Regions from separate parts of the Homo sapiens genome. Here regions 1 and 3 are each linked to region 2. The links are contacts of gene promoters, found by promoter capture Hi-C in blood cells and fetal thymus (Javierre and others, 2016). All regions are on one chromosome and are shown on one strand. The core of a region is centred on a gene start or on the middle of the fragment in contact, and the rest is flanking DNA. Distances in the headings are between cores, read along the strand shown.

The links. The method cuts DNA at HindIII sites, captures the fragments that hold promoters and counts their contacts. A CHiCAGO score of 5 or more calls a contact.
Region 1: a fragment that was not itself captured here is called in contact with the fragment with the promoter of CLEC12A-AS1 in region 2 in 9 of 17 cell types (activated CD4 T cells, neutrophils, naive B cells and 6 more); the score reaches 7.0 in activated CD4 T cells.
Region 3: a fragment that was not itself captured here is called in contact with the fragment with the promoter of CLEC12A-AS1 in region 2 in 1 of 17 cell types (neutrophils); the score reaches 5.5 in neutrophils.

The regions. Positions count from the first base shown.
Region 1 is chr12:9,807,911-9,812,253 of GRCh38, forward strand. It overlaps a transcript of KLRF1 not described here. Among named protein-coding and RNA genes, the nearest start is that of KLRF1, 17 kb to the right of the region's middle. The HindIII fragment of the contact is 590 bases long and covers 2,189-2,778 here.
Region 2 is chr12:9,950,208-9,954,596 of GRCh38, forward strand. It overlaps CLEC12A-AS1 (CLEC12A antisense RNA 1), which reads right to left and starts at 3,130. Exons shown (of 3, transcript NR_135047.1): 1 at 2,343-3,130; 2 at 695-1,872. It overlaps LOC124902874 (a long non-coding RNA gene), which reads left to right and starts at 1,450. Exons shown (of 2, transcript XR_007063207.1): 1 at 1,450-2,830. It also overlaps a transcript of CLEC12A not described here. The HindIII fragment of the contact is 17,088 bases long and covers 255-4,389 here.
Region 3 is chr12:10,087,829-10,092,099 of GRCh38, forward strand. CLEC1A (C-type lectin domain family 1 member A) reads right to left here. Exons shown (of 6, transcript NM_016511.4): 2 at 1,296-1,394. Among named protein-coding and RNA genes, the nearest start is that of CLEC1A, 9.0 kb to the right of the region's middle. The HindIII fragment of the contact is 2,308 bases long and covers 738-3,045 here.

The DNA of each region.
Region 1 (4,343 bases), core at 1,234-3,733, 140 kb before region 2:
TGTTAACTATTATTAACTAATAAAAACAACCATCAAGCAAAAAGTAAAGGTGGGTTGGGACATTTCAACTTACAGTACCAATTTCTTATTAGGAACTGGATTGTATTTATAGGAACTAAAAGGGATAATTATATTTCCCCTCTAATAATGATGCTTCTGTTTTGATATGTTGGTTTATTTTGTATGTGAGTACTTCTTTTTTTTAACTAAAGTAAAACTTGCCTACAGCTCAGTGAATAAAATGCACCAATTTAAATTGTGCAGTTTAATACATTTGACATATGTGTGAATCCATGTAATCACCATTCTGATACATTTGTGGGATAGTTCCAGTACCATAGAAAATTCCTTTGTGCTCCTTCCTGATTAATGCTTTTCCCCCAATGTGTTTGTAAAAGTAAGAAGAAATAATTGGTCTAAAATAAATCTCACTCCACTTGCTTCTTTGAGTCAAATTTACTTGCTTTTTGATTTTTTTTTCAGAATAACAGTGATTTCAAATAATTAGAACTTATGCCCTAGTTGTAATAACAGGTAACTAGGTTCATGGTAATCATCTATATATCCTAATATGTTAGAAAATATATTCACTTAAAGTTAACTAGCTTAAAGATCAATGACAGGATGGTAAGAAAACAGTAGGCTCAAAAAAGACCCGCATCCTCCCCAAAAGCAGGAGTGAATGCTAACAGTAGTTTCTCCATGTACCACAGAATGCTGCAATCATGCAGCCTTGGTTTGGTAGACGTTTGAATCAAAGAGCTTTAGGCAAGAGTTGGCAGAGTGCAATATTAAAAATATAGTTAGCTAAGTCTTAGTAAATATCCATATGTGTAATATGAGTAAGCAGGCAAGTCATGCTAGAATGACCTCGTATTCTTGGTGTTAAAAGACTTATCACATTAATGGTTTTGGAAAACAATGAATGTATCATGTATATGATTTTCACTGAGATGTATGCCACAGAATGCTATAATATCTACATGAAAGCAGTGCTACCTCAGGTTAGGTGCCATTAGTTAGGAGAGAGATCATTTTCTATATGCCAGAATGTTTTGCATTTCATTCTCTCTTACTCCACATTTTATAAATGCTTAGGTTAATATATTCAATGTATAGATGACATACAACTTGGATATCTAATACACTGAGTAATAGAATCATAAACTCCAAACATTCTGCATTTCGGAGAAAATTGAGAGTTTAGCGAGATGAATTTTTTAAGTGTATTAAAATCTAAACTGAAGAAGTTAACAAGATGGGAAGAATTGCCTTTATTTGTAGATGTATGCAAGAGCACTAGGGGAAATTCAATGACCAACAAGCTCAAAATAAGATTGTGTGAAGTAATGAATTTTAGGTAAAATCAATACAAATATATCTAAAAAGAAAGGGTGGGACTTTTTTCCTCCATTCCTGGCCCAATTCTTTGAAATAATTTTTATGTGATTGTTTCAAACCATCTTAACTTTCTCTTAGTTTTCCTCTGCATACATGCACATATGTAAATGCCTACTTTTAAGAGTACAGATGAGAAAAAACAGGGATTTGAATTAGTTGAAACCGTAACTTAAGTATTATTTCCAGGAACTAAAGCTACTTAGCCAGAATCAGGAAAAGGGCTGCTGGGAATAAGTTTGTTAACGTAAATTGTTCCAACAGCTGTCATATTGATGTTACGCTTAGTTTACTGGCTCCAGAAGGCAGAATTGATACCAATTCTTGAAAGAAGCATCCATATACCCCAGTTAATTTTGATTATGTCATGAGATTTTGTGTAGTATTCAAAGATAAATTGTTATTATTGTTGGAAAAAGCGGGTTACTTAGATTTAAACTTAGGTTAAGAAAATTGATTTAAAAAAATAAGTTCCACTTTCAAAAGTTGTTATTCTATTGATAAATCTGTTTTTTTTAATGCTGCTTTATTTGATGTAAAACTACTGTTTTGAAAATATTGACTGTGCCTATGGATTAATGTATCAAACAAAATCACCCCATGAATAAATCAAATATTTATTTATTTACCTGAAGTATACAAAAGGAGAATGACATAAAGATCAATTAGCAAGGTTGATAAATCTGCAAGAAACAAGCTTCTCAGTCCTAAATTTCATCATTAAATCACTGAAACTCAGAGTTGTGAATGACAACATCTGAATAGTGAGTGTCAACATAGATTTTCTACAAGCTTGAGGGTTTTTATCTAGGAACAATTCTGTTTGTAGGTCATCCTGGATATATTCAAGGGACCATTATTTTTGGTATTATACAATATAACTTGATGTTCTCATAGTCAAATGTGAATGCATTTCTCATACTTTATCTGAATCCTCCCAAATTAACAATGTGGTCCAAGTATATTCCCAAAATTAGAGTTTCTGAGCCTGAACGGAAGTTAAGCTCCCAGAAATCGCAGGTAGCTGTGTTAATAAGTGGTTAGAATAACTAGGGCTTATCTTTTGTGTGTCCTTTGATAAATTTAAACAAATTAAATTCCTCTCCAAGATAGGTCTGATTCACAAACTTAATGACTATATGCTTAAATTTTCACCTATAGTTTAATGAAATGTTTGTTTTTAAAAGATGTTTGAAGTCTAAAATAGACTCCCCAAACAGTGTCTGACATGTAATAAGTCCTCAGAAAATAATTCATAAATATTGAATGACTAGTAGGATATTAAAATGTGGTCATTCCTGCTGTTTACTTTTATCTGAGGGCACAAATGTCAAGAACAATTCTATAGGTGCTAGACCTCCTATATAGGACATGCTAACAAGCTTGCAAAAGTGTTTATTTCAAATTTCGATCTATCATCTACTTTCAGAGCACATTAAGAGTTTATGAGTGTTCAGAGATTAGGAAGTGAGAATTTTTTTTATGAAGTGACTTGCCAGTGTACTTCCCATTTCCCAATATCTTTCTGTGTCAATAAGCAAAAGAACTTCTCTTTTACCTTAAGCCAAGTTTGGATTCTGTCATATATTGGCAAGTGTCCTCTGGGAGTTGGAGGTTGCAGAGGTGAACACTTTCAGTATGTGAGTTTGTTAGAACTACACATAACCACAGAGTAAAAGCAGATGTGTAGATTAAGCCACACTTCCAGCAATGGTGAGGCTGAAGGGAGTGTTTCCTGTGGGCCGGATGAAGATCTCATACAAAGCAGCCATTTGGGAACCATCCTAAAATAAAATTCACCTAAGACTGCTTCTTACCACAGGCAAGTCAGCCTCAATGAAAAGAAGCTGGAAGTATAGAGTAGAAAGCAAAAAAAAAAAAGGTACCTGGGGAGTTGTGAGGGGTGAGGTACAGTGATTTGCAAGCAGGATTGCCAAAGGAGACATCACACATCAGACAACTGCAGAGTACCCCAGGAGCAGAATTTCTGAAAAACCCATAGAAGTAGTCCAAAAAAAAAAAAAAAAAGAGAGAAAACATTTGGAGTGTCAGCATACAGATTAAAACTGTCCAGGCTGGTAACATCTTTATTCCGTGTTTATTTCTATTCCCTTTGTTTCACCTTCACTCATTCTGGGGATCAGGGTTGGGGAATGGAAAGAGATACTAGAGAGGGAAGAAGCTCATGCAGAGCCCGTTATACTCACTTGCCCCCTTAATGGTCCCAAACTAAGCAGATCCAATCCAAGCTGAGAGAGAGGAAAAGTGTTAAATTAGATAAAAGTTGGACTTAAGATATTAGGCGGAATTGGATCTTTTATTATCTTCATTATCAAAAGACCATGAGATCCACAAAGGAAGGAAAGGAGAAGACTTTATTTTCAGAGGGAAAAATAACCCTAGAATTAGGGAAATGCAGCTTTCGGGAAAATCCGAAAGTTCACTCTCTGAAGAAGTGAGAGGGGGCTGGTATACATGTCTTATACAGTCAGTTTTACATACATACTGAGCAGGGTTGGGAAAATTCTGTGAATACTTATGAATATTCATGAAGGAAGTCAAGCACTAGTGCATTGGGTAAGCAGATGTAACATGCACCCCACGGTCACTTTGGGATGGTGTTTTAACATTAAATCGGGTGGAATTTGGCTCTTTACCTCAAAAGGTGAACTATAGCGTACAAAAATAGTTTGTACATAATCTCCACAAGCTGTCTGTAACTGGTTTAAGGTCTGTGGCCATTCATCAATAAAGAATGTTTATAAGATTGGGTCTGGCCGGGCGCGGTGGCTCACGCCTGTAATCCCAGCACGTTGGGAGGCCGAGGCGGGCGGATCATGAGGTCAGGAGATCACGACAATCCTGGCTAACATGGTGAAACCCCGTCTCTACTAAAAATACATAAAATTAGCCAGACGTGGTGGCGGGCGCCTGTAGTCCCAGCT
Region 2 (4,389 bases), core at 1,880-4,379:
GTTATTGTTGTTACGGCAGTCTGAATTTAGAACTTTGTGCTAACAACAGGTTACAGCAACCCTAGAGTCCATCAATGGGTGGAATAAAAATATGTCATATATACATACAATGGAATATTATTCAGCCTTAAAAAGGAAGGACATTCTGACACAAGCTACAACATAAATAACCATCGAAGGCATTATGAAGCTTCTTTTACTAGCAAAGTTACTTTCCAGAAACCTTAGTAGCTGCGATCTTGCTTCAGTCCATAAGCTTTCTGTGACTTGACTTAGAGTAGCAGGCAATTAGTCCATAAAAGAAACATAATGAATATCCTGATGCCTCTCAACCATCTGGAAAATATTAACCGGGCACCGAAATACTTGATAAATGCTGTGAAAAACATGGGATTGGGTGGTGAATAGGTTGACTGACAAGGTATGTAGAAGAGTGGGGAGAGTGTACTTTAGGGTGGGTGGTGAGACTAAGTCACTCTTCTCATTAAAAGAATGTGTGCTGCCTGTACAAATTTGTCTTCATCTTTTTCAGCCAATCCACTCCAATGGGCTTATGGATATGCTGGCCATATTAACAAATTAAGACACAAGATTTCCAGTTAAATTTGAATTTCAATCGACCACAGATAATTGCAGAGACAGCAAATACAAATATTGATGAGCAATACTTACATTAAAAATAAGTCATTTTTACCTGAAATTCAAATTCTGTTTTCCCACACATAGCTACATTATTTCCTGCACGTAGCTACATCCCTCCTCTGCTATGTAAACCCCCAATTTCAGTCACTTGGGGAGATGAATTTGAGACTGATCTGCAGTTCTTCTCAGCTGCAGCAACTGAATAAAGTCATCTCCCCTGGAAATACTTGCCTCAGTGATTGGCATTCTGTGCAATGAGTAACGGGACCTAGGCTGAACCTCTGGCATTTCAGTAACAGATTTTGGTTCCCTCATCAGGAAGACATTGCTCTTGGCTTGGCTGTCACCAGTTGGGAGAATTTCCGCAACCCTAAGCAGCAGCCTATGTGTTTTAGGCAGGATGTGGGTTTTAGTCTTTCTATTTAGCATTGCTGCTGCCAGCCCCAACCACATTTCTGATTGCCTAGGAAGAACAGCCTTTCAAATTTGACTTCTGCATGTGGATAGGTGAGTGTCTTTTGTGGATACCGACAGTGGGAATGGCTCCTCTCAATTTGAGAAATTCTGAAGGAATTTCCATTGGCAAGTTCAGCAAGGCCAACTGACGGAGAGAGGAAGCACCCTGACTGTTCCAGTTCAGACACTCTTGGGGCTTGTTAGTAATTGAGTATGTGTCTGGATAAGTGAGTGTCATTTGTGGGTCCAGACAGCAGGATCTGCTTTTCTCAATTTGAGAAATTCCGAAGGAATCTCCATTTGCAGATTGAACTAGCCCAACAAACAGGGAGAAAGCAACTCAACTGTTTCAGTTTGGACTCTCTTGGGACTTGCTTATTGTTGCAGCAGTTAGATTGTATTCTGGTGGTTGTTTGTGTGTTGATGTAGTTGTGGGAGATCAGGGTTTGATCTGAGTGCAGACCGCTTGGGTGTATTCTTCAGGGTTGGTCTGCATGTGGCTGTGGGCCAGTGGAGTGAGGGAACATCTCTACCCGTATCACGCTGAACATGCCCAATCTCATCTGATCTCAGACAGTCTTTGAATTGTAGCACTGCCTTATATTTGGATTTATTTTGCTGTTGAATGTGAATATGGGATGGAAGTCCATGTCTCCAGGCTTCTATGCTGCTGCTCTAAGGACAGGCAGGCCTGATTAGTATGTGCTGCTGTTTGGCTACAGAGTTCTTTGGAGTCTGGAGAGATTTGGCCTTTAAAAATCAAACTGTCAGACCCTGTCTCAAGGAAAAAAAAAAAAACAGGATGTGAGCGCTCTCCCTCTCCCTCTCCCTCTCCCTCTCCGTCTCCCTCTCCCTCTCCCTCTCCGTCTCCCTCTCCCTCTCCCTCTCCGTCTCCCTCTCCCTCTCCCCACGGTCTCCCTCTCATGTGGAGCCGAAGCTGGACTGTACTGCTGCCATCTCGGCTCACTGCAACCTCCCTGCCTGATTCTCCTGCCTCAGCCTGCCGAGTGCCTGCGATTGCAGGCACGCACCACCACGCCTGACTGGTTTTGGTGGAGACGGGGTTTCGCTGTGTTGGCCGGGCCGGTCTCCAGCCCCTAACCGCGAGTGATCCGCCAGCCTTGGCCTCCCGAGGTGCCGGGATTGCAGACGGAGTCTCGTTCACTCAGTGCTCAATGGTGCCCAGGCTGGAGTGCAGTGGCGTGATCTCGGCTCACTACAACCTACACCTCCCAGCAACCTGCCTTGGCCTCCCAAAGTGCCGAGATTGCAGCCTCTGCCCGGCCGCCACCCCGTCTGGGAAGTGAGGAGTGTCTCCGCCTGGCCACCCATCGTCTGGGATGTGAGGAGCCCCTCTGCCTGGCTGCCCAGTCTGGAAAGTGAGGAGCGTCTCCGCCCGGCCGCCATCCCATCTAGGAAGTGAGGAGCGCCTCTTCCCAGCCGCCATCACATCTAGGAAGTGAGGAGCGTCTCTGCCCGGCCGCCCATCGTCTGAGATGTGGGGAGCGCCTCTGCCCCGCCGCCCCATCTGGGATGTGAGGAGCGCCTCTGCCCGGCCGAGACCCCGTCTGGGAGGTGAGGAGCGTCTCTGCCCGGCCGCCCCGTCTGAGAAGTGAGGAGACCCTCTGCCTGGCAACCACCCCGTCTGAGAAGTGAGGAGCCCCTCCGCCCGGCAGCCGCCCCGTCTGAGAAGTGAGGAGCCTCTCCGCCCGGCAGCCACCCCATCTGGGAAGTGAGGAGCGTCTCCGCCCAGCAGCCACCCCGTCCGGGAGGGAGGTGGGGGGGGTTAGCCCTCCGCCCGGCCAGCCGCCCCATCCGGGAGGGAGGTGGGGGGTCAGCCCCCCGCCTGGCCAGCCATGCCGTCCGGGAGGGAGGTGGGGGGGTCAGCCCCCTGCCCGGCCAGCCGCCCCGTCCAGGAGGTGAGGGGCGCCTCTGCCCGCCCCCCCCTACTGGGAAGTGAGGAGCCCCTCAGCCCGGCCAGCCACCCCGTCTGGGACGGAGATGGGGGGTCAGCCCCCCCGCCCAGCCAGCTGCCCCGTCCGGGAGGGAGGTGGGGGGGTCAGCCCCCCGCCTGGCCAGCCGCCCCGTCCGGGAGGGAGGTGGGGGGGTCAGCCCCCCGCCTGGCCAGCCGCCCCGTCCGGGAGGGAGGTGGGGGGGGTCAGCCCCCCCGCCCAGCCAGCCGCCCCGTCCGGGAGGTGAGGGGCGCCTCTGCCCGGCCGCCCCCTACTGGGAAGTGAGGAGCCCCTCTGCCTGGCCAGCCGCCCCGTCCGGGAGGGAGGTGGGGGGGTCAGCCCCCTGCCCGGCCAGCCGCCCCGTCCGGGAGGTGAGGGGCGCCTCTGCCCGGCCGCCCCTACTGGGAAGTGAGGAGCCCCTCTGCCCGGCCACCACCCCGTCTGGGAGGTGTGCCCAGCAGCTCATTGAGAACGGGCCAGGATGACAATGGCGGCTTTGTGGAATAGAAAGGCGGGAAAGGTGGGGAAAAGATTGAGAAATGGGATGGTTGCCGTGTCTGTGTAGAAAGAAGTAGACATGGGAGACTTTTCATTTTGTTCTGCACTAAGAAAGATTCTTCTGCCTTGGGATCCTGTTGATCTGTGACCTTACCCCCAACCCTGTGCTCTCTGAAACATGTGCTGTGTCCACTCAGGGTTAAATGGATTAAGGGCGGTGCAAGATGTGCTTTGTTAAACAGATGCTTGAAGGCAGCATGCTCGTTAAGAGTCATCACCAATCCCTAATCTCAAGTAATCAGGGACACAAACACTGCGGAAGGCCGCAGGGTCCTCTGCCTAGGAAAACCAGAGACCTTTGTTCACTTGTTTATCTGCTGACCTTCCCTCCACTATTGTCCCATGACCCTGCCAAATCCCCTCTGTGAGAAACACCCAAGAATTATCAATAAAAAAAAAAAAAAAAAAAAAAAAAAAATCAAACTGTCAGCTGGGCGCAAGAAACTGAGGTGGGCAGATACTTGAGCCCAGGAGTTCGAGACCAGCCTGGGCAACATGGTGAAACCCTGTCTCTACAAAAAATACAAATATTAGCTGGGTGTAATGGTGCATACCTGTAGTCCCAGCTACTCAGGAGGCTGAGGTGGGAGGATTACCTGAGCCTGGGAGGTTGAGGCTGCAGTGAGCCTTGATCACACCACTGCACTTCCAGCCTGGGTGACGGAGATCCTGTCTCAAAAAAAAAAATAATCAAACTATCATGGAAACTGCTTTATTCAAAATTTTGTTTCACAACCTTTATTGGATTACCTATCAGAACAAATAAAGTTCAACCATGTGA
Region 3 (4,271 bases), core at 642-3,141, 140 kb after region 2:
AAATGTATAATTTAAATAATTTATCTATGTATATTTATAAATAAATAAATAGAAATGTGGAGTTATAATATTAGTTCCTAACTTCAGGAATAAATTCTTAACCTATATTTACTGCTTGATAAATATTTTTATGTATACTCTCAAATGTTACTCAACATAAAACCGCCAATCTGTTTATATGTTGATCATTATATTGAGTATTGACAATATACCATATATTGTTACTTATTCAGTTATTGAAATAGTGTTATTATTTTTTCCATGATTTTACAGTTTGCAATTAGGATCATTGAGAACAAGTAAATTCCTAACATCATTTGACTAGAAATTTTCAACATTCAGATTTGAAATTCAGGTCTCTACATCTAAGTATAGAAATCCCTCATGAATCATAAGAGTTCCTCTATATTTCCAAGAATAATGGTGATTGCAAAACAATAGTTCTATCACAATGAAACAAAACTTTTGGGATCAAAAAGGGCAACAAGAAGTTATTTTTAATTTTGAAATATAAGACACAAACAGAAGTATTAAAATTCCTATAAAACCCAATTTTTGACATTAAAATCTGCTCTTCTATATAACATTTTTCTTTGAATAACTGTTCAAAGAACAGTTAAAAGAACTGTTCAAAGAACAGTTAAAAGAACTGTTCAAAGAACAGTTATTCAGCTGTTTAGGAAACATTGCTGTGGGGTCTTCACCTACTGAGGCAAATTCATCCACTTTCTTTTTTAAGCTTTTTAACTTGTTTTTACTAGTTTGAAATTTAAATATTTTTAGATATGCTTTTTTCCAATTTGATTTTCACAAGTTTTTGTAAAGTGACTGTATAACTTCCTGGCCTTTAAAAAATATGGTGATTAAGGAGTTTACCTACTCTCCTTGTATTGATGGTACCCGTGGCTCTATGGGTAGCATATTCTGCACTAGCCCACTGAACCTTGTATTCTCAGAGCCCAAACCTCTGATACCCTAGTCTTTTGTGGAATGGGAGAGGGCTGAAGCATGCATTTATTTAAAATAAATGATTTTTTTTAAACATTGACATACAAACAAACAGACAAAACCCTTCTTATCTCAAACAGAATGTTTAATTCTAGTTGGCAACTGATTTTTTTTTTACTTCTTCTTCCATTATTCACTATTTAAATAGTTGCCATTTAAAAAAAGATACACTGAATTTTCCAAAGGCTAAGGAATTAAAGTTTAAAAAACAAATCCATAACAAGTGTTTCTCATCCTAGACAAACCTTGGAACCAGGATCCTCCCCCAGGTCAGAGCGCAGACTTACACAAAAGCCCCAGGGCTGCCAGCCCTATCAGCAGCACCAAGCACAAAGTCAGCAGGGTCAGGGCCACTGGTCGCCACGTTGAAGAGGGAGCCCTGTGCTCTGCAGGGAACAGAAGAGAAAGCAGAGTTTGGCTTTTTCTTCCTCTTGCATCTAAGTCAATAACAGGTAAGGGAGTGGAGTTAATTCTGCACAAGAACAAATTAGGCTGGACAACGGTAACAGGGGCTGGATAACCTGCTTTCTGTCCTCAGAAACATCATCATAAGGCTCAGTGCAAGCCTCACTTATCACAGCTAGATTTTCTCACAAGCCCCACCCGTTTGTATCCACCCCTCAAGTCTTACTTTGCACTGAATCACACTATGCATTACCATTATCTTTATGTGGTTCTTTGTACAACCTTCTGCTTGTCAAAATTCTAATTATGAAAGACTCTCACGAAAATGTCTGAAACACAGCCTGAGAATCTCTGAACCTTACCAAGGGACAACTTTTTACATAATCAGGGGAAAGATGAAATTAATTTGTTGTTACTTTTGAAAAACATCCCCCTTCCCCCAAGTTCCGTATATGCTTTTTCTAAAAGGCAAATTGCATGTTAGTAATGGGAAGTAATAATTTTACTGTTTTTCTGTGGAATTGCTTAATTGAAAGTCCCGCTATTGTAAGGATATTGTTTATTCATTCATTTGATTTATATTTTTTCAAAAATAGATTATAAAGAAACATGATAATCAATTTCAGAAAGATGAATCTAAACTATTTTTGCAACAGTTAAATAATTTTTAAAACTGTGGCAAACATGGTTTCCTCGCCCTCCATTCCCATAAGTTTGACTAGTAATTGCAGAGGTTTTACTGTAAGTCATGAGTAGACCCCTCACCTAGTGAGGTCACCTATCTGAATCTGAATGACCTAACATATCTGAAGGGAAGAGTCTCAGTCAGGTGCAGGTAGCATCTAGCACTGTGATAAAAATGAAACAAAGAGAGAGTGAAACCCTCAAACAAACTGTGATCTCTTTGTAGCCCGTTAGTTCTACTTCACTGAGAATTCAAGTCACGTTCTGAAACAGAAAGATTAAAGAGATCGGAGGGGCTTTTTGAAAGGAAAATTCTTTTCCTTCTAGCAAGGTCCTATACATAATACATTCTAGGTACAGAGATTTTCCAGGCTGGAGTGCAGTGGCGAGATCTCAGCTCACTGCAACCTCCGCCTCCAAGGTTCAAGCAATCCTCCCACCTCAGCTCCTGAGGAGCCGGAACTACAGGCACGTGCCACCACGCCTGGCTAATTTTTTTTTCCTATATTTTTGTTGGAGATGAGGTTTCACCATGTTGCCCAGGCTGCAGGCTGTTCTCTAACTCCTGAGCTCAAGTGATCCTCTAACCCCGCCTCCCAAAGTGCTGGGATTACAGGCATGAGCCACCGCGCCCGGCCAATTCTAGGTAGAGATTTATATGAAACGTTATTTCCAAATGGGGAATGATAACTAGTAAAGAATATAGAAATAGACAGTATAATTACTATCCTCTGGAACTTACAATCTAGTAGGCAAAATAAGTTAAAGTCTCGGAGAAGACATACTGATACATTTTTAAATGTGAATCTTATTTCTTAGCAATCATCTCCTTCATAAGTAGCTTTCATTACATTTAGAATAAAATACAAATCACTTTTCACAGATTGCTCCTTTTTTTAAAAAAAATGGCAATTTTATTATGCTACTTCCCTACTTAAAAACTTCAAAAGCTTTATTGCACTTAAAATTAAATCCTGCATTAGTCTTATTGAGACCTTCCTTAGCTCTTTCATGCCTTTCTGAACTATTTTCCCCTCACTCACATGTACTCCTCACAACGGTCTCCCGTTTAGTCCTTGATCTGATCAAGCTTGACCCTAAGCACCTTGTATCAGCCCTACTTCTGCCTCTGCATTAATTTCAGTTTCAATGGCACATCCTTGGAAGAGGTCCGTAAGTCCATCTCTAGCAGATCACTCACCCTGTACTAGGTAATCTTTTCATGACTTTTGTTTCTTTTTGTCTGTCTCCTTTCTCTCCATTTAACATTCCATTACAACAATGATCTTGTCTATCTTGTCCACCAGTCCATTTCCACTACTGAAAGTAGTGCCTGGGACATAAGGGCTGAGTAAATCTTTGACAGCTTAAATAATCAAAAAATGAAATAATAAAAAATTAATATGACTTAAACTATTTAAGTTTTAAAGAGATAAGTGGGTTCTCCAAAGTTAAGTTTACAGGTTTTTGTTTTTGTTTTTTTTGTAGGCTATTGATTTTCAGCAACATCTATGTCAGCAGAAAACAGACTCAGCTAAATACATCTCCCAGCCATGTTGGTTTCTATACATTGACTTTTGTGAGATTATATCATGAACAAATCTAAGGGAGATTTGCTTCCTCCTGTTTCCTTCAGTTAACTGAGCTATGTGATTTAGTCTTAGTTTTTCTGGAAAAAGATGGTTTTCTCGTGGTATTGACTGTAAAAGTATTTCAGATCAGCAGAACATAAAAAAAAAAAAAGATTAGAGGCAGAATATATAGTTTGGGTTAATCATCCTCTCCAAAACCCTATATTTGTAAACTTCCATACAGTCCAAGAAAGTTAATCATATGGATGTTTCTAGATTCCATAGTTAAAAGTGCTTATGTGAGCCCACCACCATGGTGATTTTATTTTTCCACATACCTCTTATTACCATTAAATATATTGTATATCTTTGTTATTTCATTTAGCTTATATGTGTCTTACTCCAGGAAAAATTAAGCTCCTTCTTGGAAAATATTTATTTATCCATTATTGCAACCCAATTCCTAGGGCAGTAGTTGAAATAAGCTCAATTAAATTTAAATAAATGAATGAATAGGTCCATTATATACAAATACCTGTGTTATATGCCTGCCTACCCTTACTCAAACACAGTTACATTAATATGCATCTCAAAGTCATAATA